Regions from separate parts of the Homo sapiens genome. Here region 1 is linked to region 2. The links are contacts of gene promoters, found by promoter capture Hi-C in blood cells and fetal thymus (Javierre and others, 2016). All regions are on one chromosome and are shown on one strand. Each heading gives the region's core, a stretch centred on a gene start or on the middle of the fragment in contact. The rest is flanking DNA. Distances are from core to core; before and after follow the strand shown. Region 1 holds the start of CRISP1 (cysteine rich secretory protein 1). Region 2 holds the start of GLYATL3 (glycine-N-acyltransferase like 3).

Region 1 (3,831 bases), core at 851-3,350, 370 kb after region 2:
AGGCTGCCTTACAGTCTGTAAAATAAATCTTTAATCGCCATTATCCATTAAATGTCTAGCAACTCCCGAAAACAAAATGTCAAGTTATAAAAGTGACAGAGGACCACTACCTGTTTGACTATGGCCCCTTATTACTGGCTAATTCTTTTGGCAGCATTTTCAATATTTTGTGAAATAAAAGATGCCTACGTTGTCATTTTCAGATCTATATAACCCTATGGTAATTGTCCCTACGTGAAAAAATGTTTCTTCTAAGCCCTCCCCAAGAAGTTCATGAGAATGAACTCAACATGTAATATTACTTTATATTTGGATAGTATATCAGCTTATAAACACCTTTATTAAAAGCATGGAGATAACTAACATTTACTTTTAGATAACAATAGCATTAGAATAAAACTTTGCATGTAATCTCATTTAACATTATAACAATGCTTTTGGGTAGTCACTTATGAATCTTATTTTCAAATAAAGAAACTGACAAAGATATTATATAACTTACCCAAGTCCACACAGCCTTTAAATTTGTGTCCTGATAAGAACCAAGCCTTTCTCTATGTAGTGTATTTGTGCTTTTAAATGACAGTCCACAGGGGAGATTTGTTCAATGAGGTAGTCAGTACAAGGTAAATGCCTATAACAGATCAAGGGATTTACGGTGGACACCAGGCATGAATACATGATAATCAGAACAAATCTAGAGTCTGTGAAGATTACAAATCATGATTATGGGGACATTTCTAGTTTGTAACCAAGGCAACATCATCAATGGAACTCACCAATTTTAAACTTTTACCCTGGGAACTAACTGCAAAGATTAGTTGCATGATTCAGCAGAGCCACAATCAGATAACAAAGGTCACTGTAAGGGAAAATGACTTGCTGGTCCAGAAACTTCTCAACTTTATTAAATTCATTCAGTAATTATTTATTGAGGTCTTAAGATGATTTATGCTCTCTTCTAGATGCTGAGGATACATAGAATCACCAAACATATAAACTACACAATCTTATGGAGTTTGGTAACTGTTCTATAATGTGTCACATACTTGGAGAGGCTCTGGGAATGAAAAGATAAGTAGTCCATTTTCCTAAGACCTTCCTGGTTAAAAGGAAAACTTCTGCAATTTGGGAGAATTCTAATAGAGATTTGTCCAGAAACAATGTGGAAGCAACTAACTACCTTGAGAGGTCTAGAAATACTGAACACTAAATTGTAAAACACTAAAAATTCCAGAAATCATTTGAGTCACATGATGAGAAATATCACAGGACACTTAGAACAAAGAAAGAAATATCACACAGACAGAAATCACATATGAGAATAGAAAATTTACTCTGAAACTAGGTGTAATCAGATGTTTTTGAATTGTCTTATTATTCTGAAAAGTTGGGAAATGTTTGTATATGTGAGTGCATGGTCGCTTATATTGAAGTCATAGCTTGCTGGCCTCTTTTTAAAATTATGAATTAAGTCTTTGTTCTTTGTAAGAAAGAATACATTATTATTTAATAAAAAATATTTTTCTTGTATCTTGCTTAAGAAAGGGCAATTGAATATCTAAAAGGAAAGAGTAAAAATAAGGTAAGAATTGTGTAGTCATAAGTTATTTTGTGTTAGTTCTGGGGTGAGGGTTAGGAAATAAAAATTAAAAGAAAGATCAGAGTCTCTTAAGATAGAACTTTCTGGTCTTGTTAAAGTATATAATGAATGTCCAGAAAACCATCTGCAGGAAAGGAGAACTAAACATCACTAAAAATTGCTCACCTATACCTAGAAGAATTTCTCTTTTGGTTGAGGGAGATGGTGTTAATCTAAAAACATAGAAAAGCTTATCTGTAAACTCTTTCATAGATAAGATGAATTATCTTTAGCTTAACTTTAATTGGCTTTAAAGAATTTTACATGATCTTGAAATTAACACTTCCAAATTATTGAGCAACTTTCTCCAACAAACTACATTGTAAAAAGAAAGCTGCAAAAGAATGCTATTACTTCACCAAACCAGCATGGTTTATATATTAGAAATGTATAATTGTCATTTATTTCTTGCTAAACTGCTGTTTATAAAGGAGAGTGTTGATTCAACATCAAGTCAAGTGTTTATGGAAACTTAATTGCTCTGGTTTTATCTGTTGGTCCTGGCAATTCCTGGCATTGCTCTACCCAACACAATGCTGTCTGTATTTATAGCACTGATGTCTTCATATAGAGTTGCTATCCAGCTTCATATATGGTTTTAAAAGAATTTGGGAAGTGTTGGAAAGCAAGGAATAACTTGATTTGCATGTGAGTCCCAAACATGGGTGCCAGTTGGCTGTTTCTGTTCATAAATTTCCTATTTTCATAGATTGTTCTCTTTCTGTTTAAGCTTTTTAGCATAGTAGGAAACTATCTACAATAACTTTTTTCCCTAAAATAATAATCTGACACATTTATCTAGCATATCATAACATGATAGAATATTTCTAACTGGATTATCCCAGAAAAATCTTGAGAGATAGATAAAGGCTAATGTGTTTACAATCACATCATGTTTGTCTGAATATATCCATTTTTAAAAGAAACTTTAAATCAATCATTTACTCAGAGATTGGCTAACAAAAATTTTAGAAAGCCCAGATATATAATACATGTTGAAGGAAGCATTCATGTGTTAAATGTGATTTTAAAATCATATTTGTAAAATAATTTTGCATATATTCTGGCTGTGGCTTTATTCTAATTATCCACTGGACACAGACATCCTCTCCTTTCCCTTCACTTTCTCCATGACTGAACTCTTACCTACAACAATCCCATTTGTGTCTCATTGCTTCTTCATACCACTCAGTAAAATTGTGCTTATGCTTCAAAGTCCTGTATGTTGCAAGGGCTCAATGACTCCAGACTTGCTCAGAAACTCAGGCCAAAAAGTACTCTAGACTTTAACAAATTCAAACTTATGTTGCACATAAAATAAAGCCAAAGTCAGTTTCTGAATTTGAATTTTAAGAACCCTGGGAGATTAATGGCCCTTTGAAATTTCCCCCCTCTTCTTCTACAATTTATAGCTTTCATAATCAGAATGAAAGTCAATATACATTTATCCTTCTATTCAACTTTGTTTTAGTTGTCTACTTCTCATAATAAATAATCCCAAGGCTCAATGATTTAAAGCAATAAATGTGGTCTCTTGGTTTCTGGGAATCAGTAATTCAAGGATGGCTTGACTGAGCACATTTGGTTTATGGTGCCTCATTGATTGCAATCAGTTGTCAGTTGAGGCTGCAGACATTTATATCTCTGATGGCTTTCCTGCTTCCAAATTGATTTACTTATATGACTTGCAAGTTGGTGCTGTTTGTTGGTGCGAAGCCCTAGTTGCTCTCCAGATTGGCCTTTCCACAGGGCTTCTGATTATCCTTATAACTTGACAGTCACCTACCCCTGAGCAAATGATGCAAGAACACAGGAGAGGCTGCAATGCCTTTTATGACATAGAGTGAGAAGTCACACACTTTAATATTCTATTGTTCACAGAGTCTAGCTCTAATTCGATTAACAAGAAGACCACACAAGAGCATAACTACCAGGAGGCAAGGATTATTGAAGCTATCCTGGAAGTTGCCATCATACACTCCTACCCCTAACCTCTTTTTAACTTTAAATTCAGTTTTTTCTACAGCTCACTTGAGGAAAGTCTTGTGATTCCTCTCAAGTTAACAGAAAGATGTCAGTATAAAGCTGGAAGTATGAAAACAGTATCCTTTCTTTCCCAGGAGTAAAAGTGTTAAAAAATCATGCCAAAAATTTAAATGGAAAAGGAAGGTACTATGGTCTAAATGTTG
Region 2 (3,548 bases), core at 442-2,941:
TGACATTTATTGAGTGCTTGCTACATGCCAGGTACTAGTCCAATGCCATTACCTATATACATGTATTTATGCCAATGTTTAATCTTAATGGAAACCCTATGGGAATTAAACCTCATAACATTCATTATTATCTCCATCCTGCAGGTGAAGAAACTGCGGCACAGGGAGGCTAAATAACTTGAGATCACACAGATAGTAAATGATAGAACAAGGAAGTGAAAAAATAATTGAACCTTTTCTTAGGAGTTTTCTGATAAACTACAAGTAGAAGGGGCTAGTGAATCTAATGAGTAACCCCTATTACAGCAAAGTACAATCTGATGTATTTTTCTGAGTAAAGTGATAATATGTATTGCGGATTTGTTCACCTGGGTTTTCAGAAGACAATTCCTTTAAATTAATCTTACATTGGGAATCTCCTTTTTTCCTCCTTTTTCCGTTAATCTCAGAGTTAAAAGTTTGCCTTAGCCTAATATATATACATATCTCAAATTTAATTACCTTCAACCATACTTTCCAGGAAAAGGAATGTTTTGCCTTTTTATTATTTTTTTCTTCAGGCAAAAATTAGTTCCAATTAGTTCTGATGTTTTATAAAGAACAAAGAGCTCAAATTTCTGTTTTAAATGCACTTGGAAACAAGACGTAATCTAAATTTGGGGAGACTTTTACATGTCTCAGAGTTTATAAATAACCAGACCCCAAACTTTTTAAAGTTTCCCCTAGGATATTGCACTTACTGTCTAAAGGAGTTCCTGTTTTGCAAATAAAAAAAAAGCTTAACTTTTAAAAAATATATTTTACTCAGTTAATATTTAGAAAACTATATTTATATAGGCTCCTTAGGTCCAAGAGTAGGTATACTTTGTTCTCAGTAACATCTTTTAAAAAAGAAGTTATCAATGTATACAGCAAGATCAAAAACTCTTATTTTGACATCTAGTAATTGACATCTAATACAATTTCTCCATTTGCTGTCAACTACTAGCTGCCCATTGTATTACAAAGCTCAGTGTCCTCTAGTGAAGAATGCCCTACCTTACCATTTTATGAGACCTAAATGTGGTAAACAGAATCCTCCCATCTAACCACATTCAAACTGAAGCACTCTGCATATGCCGTTGAGACATTTGTGTTGCATATTATTTCAAGATGTAGATATTGAGTGCTGAGATGTCCAAGTAAATACTTACATGGTGGTTAAAATTGCAGTCTTTTGAAAGAAGTGAGTAAACTCTGAATGACTTTTCATTTAAAAGAATAGGCTGAAGTAATTAAAATTCTTGAAATTACTCTCATGTACTTATGTATCCTCTGTAGAGATTACCCCCTTTCAGCCTTGGAAGTTTAGGGCAGCAAAATCATTTTCTTCAGAATATATAAAAAAATAACTAAAGGGTCAATACCTTTATATTACTTTCTTATCGTACTACCATTTGCCTGGGCTCCTCTTCTTTTTATTCTCCTTCATGAGATACTGATTAATAGACAGGTTTTATGGCTAGAAAATACCTATCTCTAAATCAAGATTAGTATTCATTGGCTTTTACACCATAAGGCTAAATGTGATAAAAAGGAAGAGATGGAGTGGAAATGCCTGTGCTCTATGTGAGATGATTTTCACCTGATCACCATCATAAACTCCTCCCCGTCTACAGGTGTGGGCACTTTTTTTTTTTTCTCTCCCTCCTGTTTCCACTAAGGGCTAATTAGAGAGGTAGCCTTGAAGAATAAACTTACCATTTATATAAAAGGGCTACTGGACTGATACACAGCTGAAAACCCTCAGTTCTGGACTGAACTCCCAGCAGGTAAACATTTATTCATTAATATAATACATTTCAAGTCATAGTTTATAATTGCAGAAAGGGATGGGAAAAATAGAGAAGAGATGAAATCCAACCTTATACAGAACGAATACATTGTAATTAGGTTTCAAGGAAAGATATATTTTGTTTTGTTTCTTGGCGTGTTTTTGTTTGGGGTTTTTTTAACTCCTAAATTTTGATATGAGGAAAATTTTTACTCTTAAATTTTGATGTGAGGAAAATAAGTATTACCAAGTATAAATTTGTTTGCATTGTGATATGGGCACAACTAGAGCAACCTCTCTGAACAAAAATCCTAACATATGAAAAATAATTACTAGCATTGGATTCCAAGTGCTTAAAAAAATGTATTTCCTCATTAACAAATGCCCACCATTATATTGTAAATATTGTATTACATTACAAAAACAGAGATCTTATGTTTTATTGCTTATAAGACTTAAAAGTCTCCCAGGAGAGTGTCATGCTTTCATTGTTATGATAAATATTAATGAATAAAATATTTTAGATGCTTGCTCTGTGCTTATAAACACTCAAATGCCCCCAAAGAAACTTCAGTTTCTAAAACTTACATGAGCATAATTCTTTTTCTTGACAAATACTTTCAAACAGTGAGTCTATTGGTTATAATTTGGTTAAAGGAGTTACCAACCTTTAACTTCCAATTCCAGAACATACTGATTATGGACAGTACTAATCAAGTGGTAAGGATATGACATTCTGCTCTTGTAGCTTTCAGAGTTAATCGTCATTATGACTCTCTAACATGTTACAAAAATGTGTAGAAAATATTTTCTGCATCAATGAGAATTTCTGCTCTACCTTGTGGCATTAAAAAAATTTCTATTTAATGAAAGATCCTTATGAAATGAATCACTGTTTACTGAAAGGGTATTGTCAAATGTAGATTAATTGTAGTGTCCTCTCTGCATGAACCCATGGGGGAATGTCTCTGATTTTAGTTTGTCACCCTGAGTAATTTGTGAGTTGCATGAGTATAGTCTAGAAGGGTAAGTTGAAGCCAATTAAGTAGAGGTTTTGCTATTAAGAAGCTGGAGGCCAGGCAGGGTGGCTCACACCTGTAATCCCAGCACTTTGGGGGGCCAAGGCAGGTGGATCACATGAGGTCAGGAGTTTGAGATCAGCCTAGCCAACATGGTGAAACCCCCCATCTCTACTAAAAATATAAAAAAAACTAGCCAGGCGTTGGTGGTGTGTATCGCGGGAGCTGGCCAGCAGCCCGCAATGCAACGGGGCTCTCTCTTTGTTCCTAGGTGGATTGGCAGGTCGAGAAATAAGAGACTCACACAAGATAGTGAAAGCAGGTCCCGCGGTGCCGCCAATGCACTGACTATACCAGCATTTATTATTAAGTTTAGTGAGGGCAGCGGTAGGTTAGTGAGGGATTTAGGGTCATTTGATTATGAGGTGAGATGGTCACATGGGGATGAAGTAATTCTTTAACATAATATCTGTATGCAGAAGTACAGTATACAGAGATAAGAATTTACAATATAGTGTGTGCATCAGTAATTTCTAACAGAGCCTTAAAACAGAAACACAGTCTTTCCATAACCTATGATTAGCAGGATATTAATCAGCAGTAACAGTTGCAGCAAAAGCTGGTTACAAACAATCCATAGAAACAGGATGTGAAGCTAGACAACTAGTTAGACCAGAAATCCTCAGAAGGAAATATGTCTTAACCCTAAAGAGGCC

What was found. The method cuts DNA at HindIII sites, captures the fragments that hold promoters and counts their contacts. A CHiCAGO score of 5 or more calls a contact.
Region 1: a contact is called between a fragment that was not itself captured here and the fragment with the promoter of GLYATL3 in region 2, in 4 of 17 cell types (erythroblasts, M2 macrophages, megakaryocytes and 1 more). The highest score is 13.2, in erythroblasts.

What each region holds. Positions count from the first base shown.
Region 1 is chr6:49,865,927-49,869,757 of GRCh38, forward strand. CRISP1 (cysteine rich secretory protein 1) reads right to left here and starts at 609. Exons shown (of 8, transcript NM_001131.3): 1 at 503-609. The HindIII fragment of the contact is 540 bases long and covers 1,831-2,370 here.
Region 2 is chr6:49,498,232-49,501,779 of GRCh38, forward strand. GLYATL3 (glycine-N-acyltransferase like 3) reads left to right here and starts at 1,692. Exons shown (of 6, transcript NM_001010904.2): 1 at 1,692-1,811. The HindIII fragment of the contact is 14,834 bases long and covers 777-3,548 here.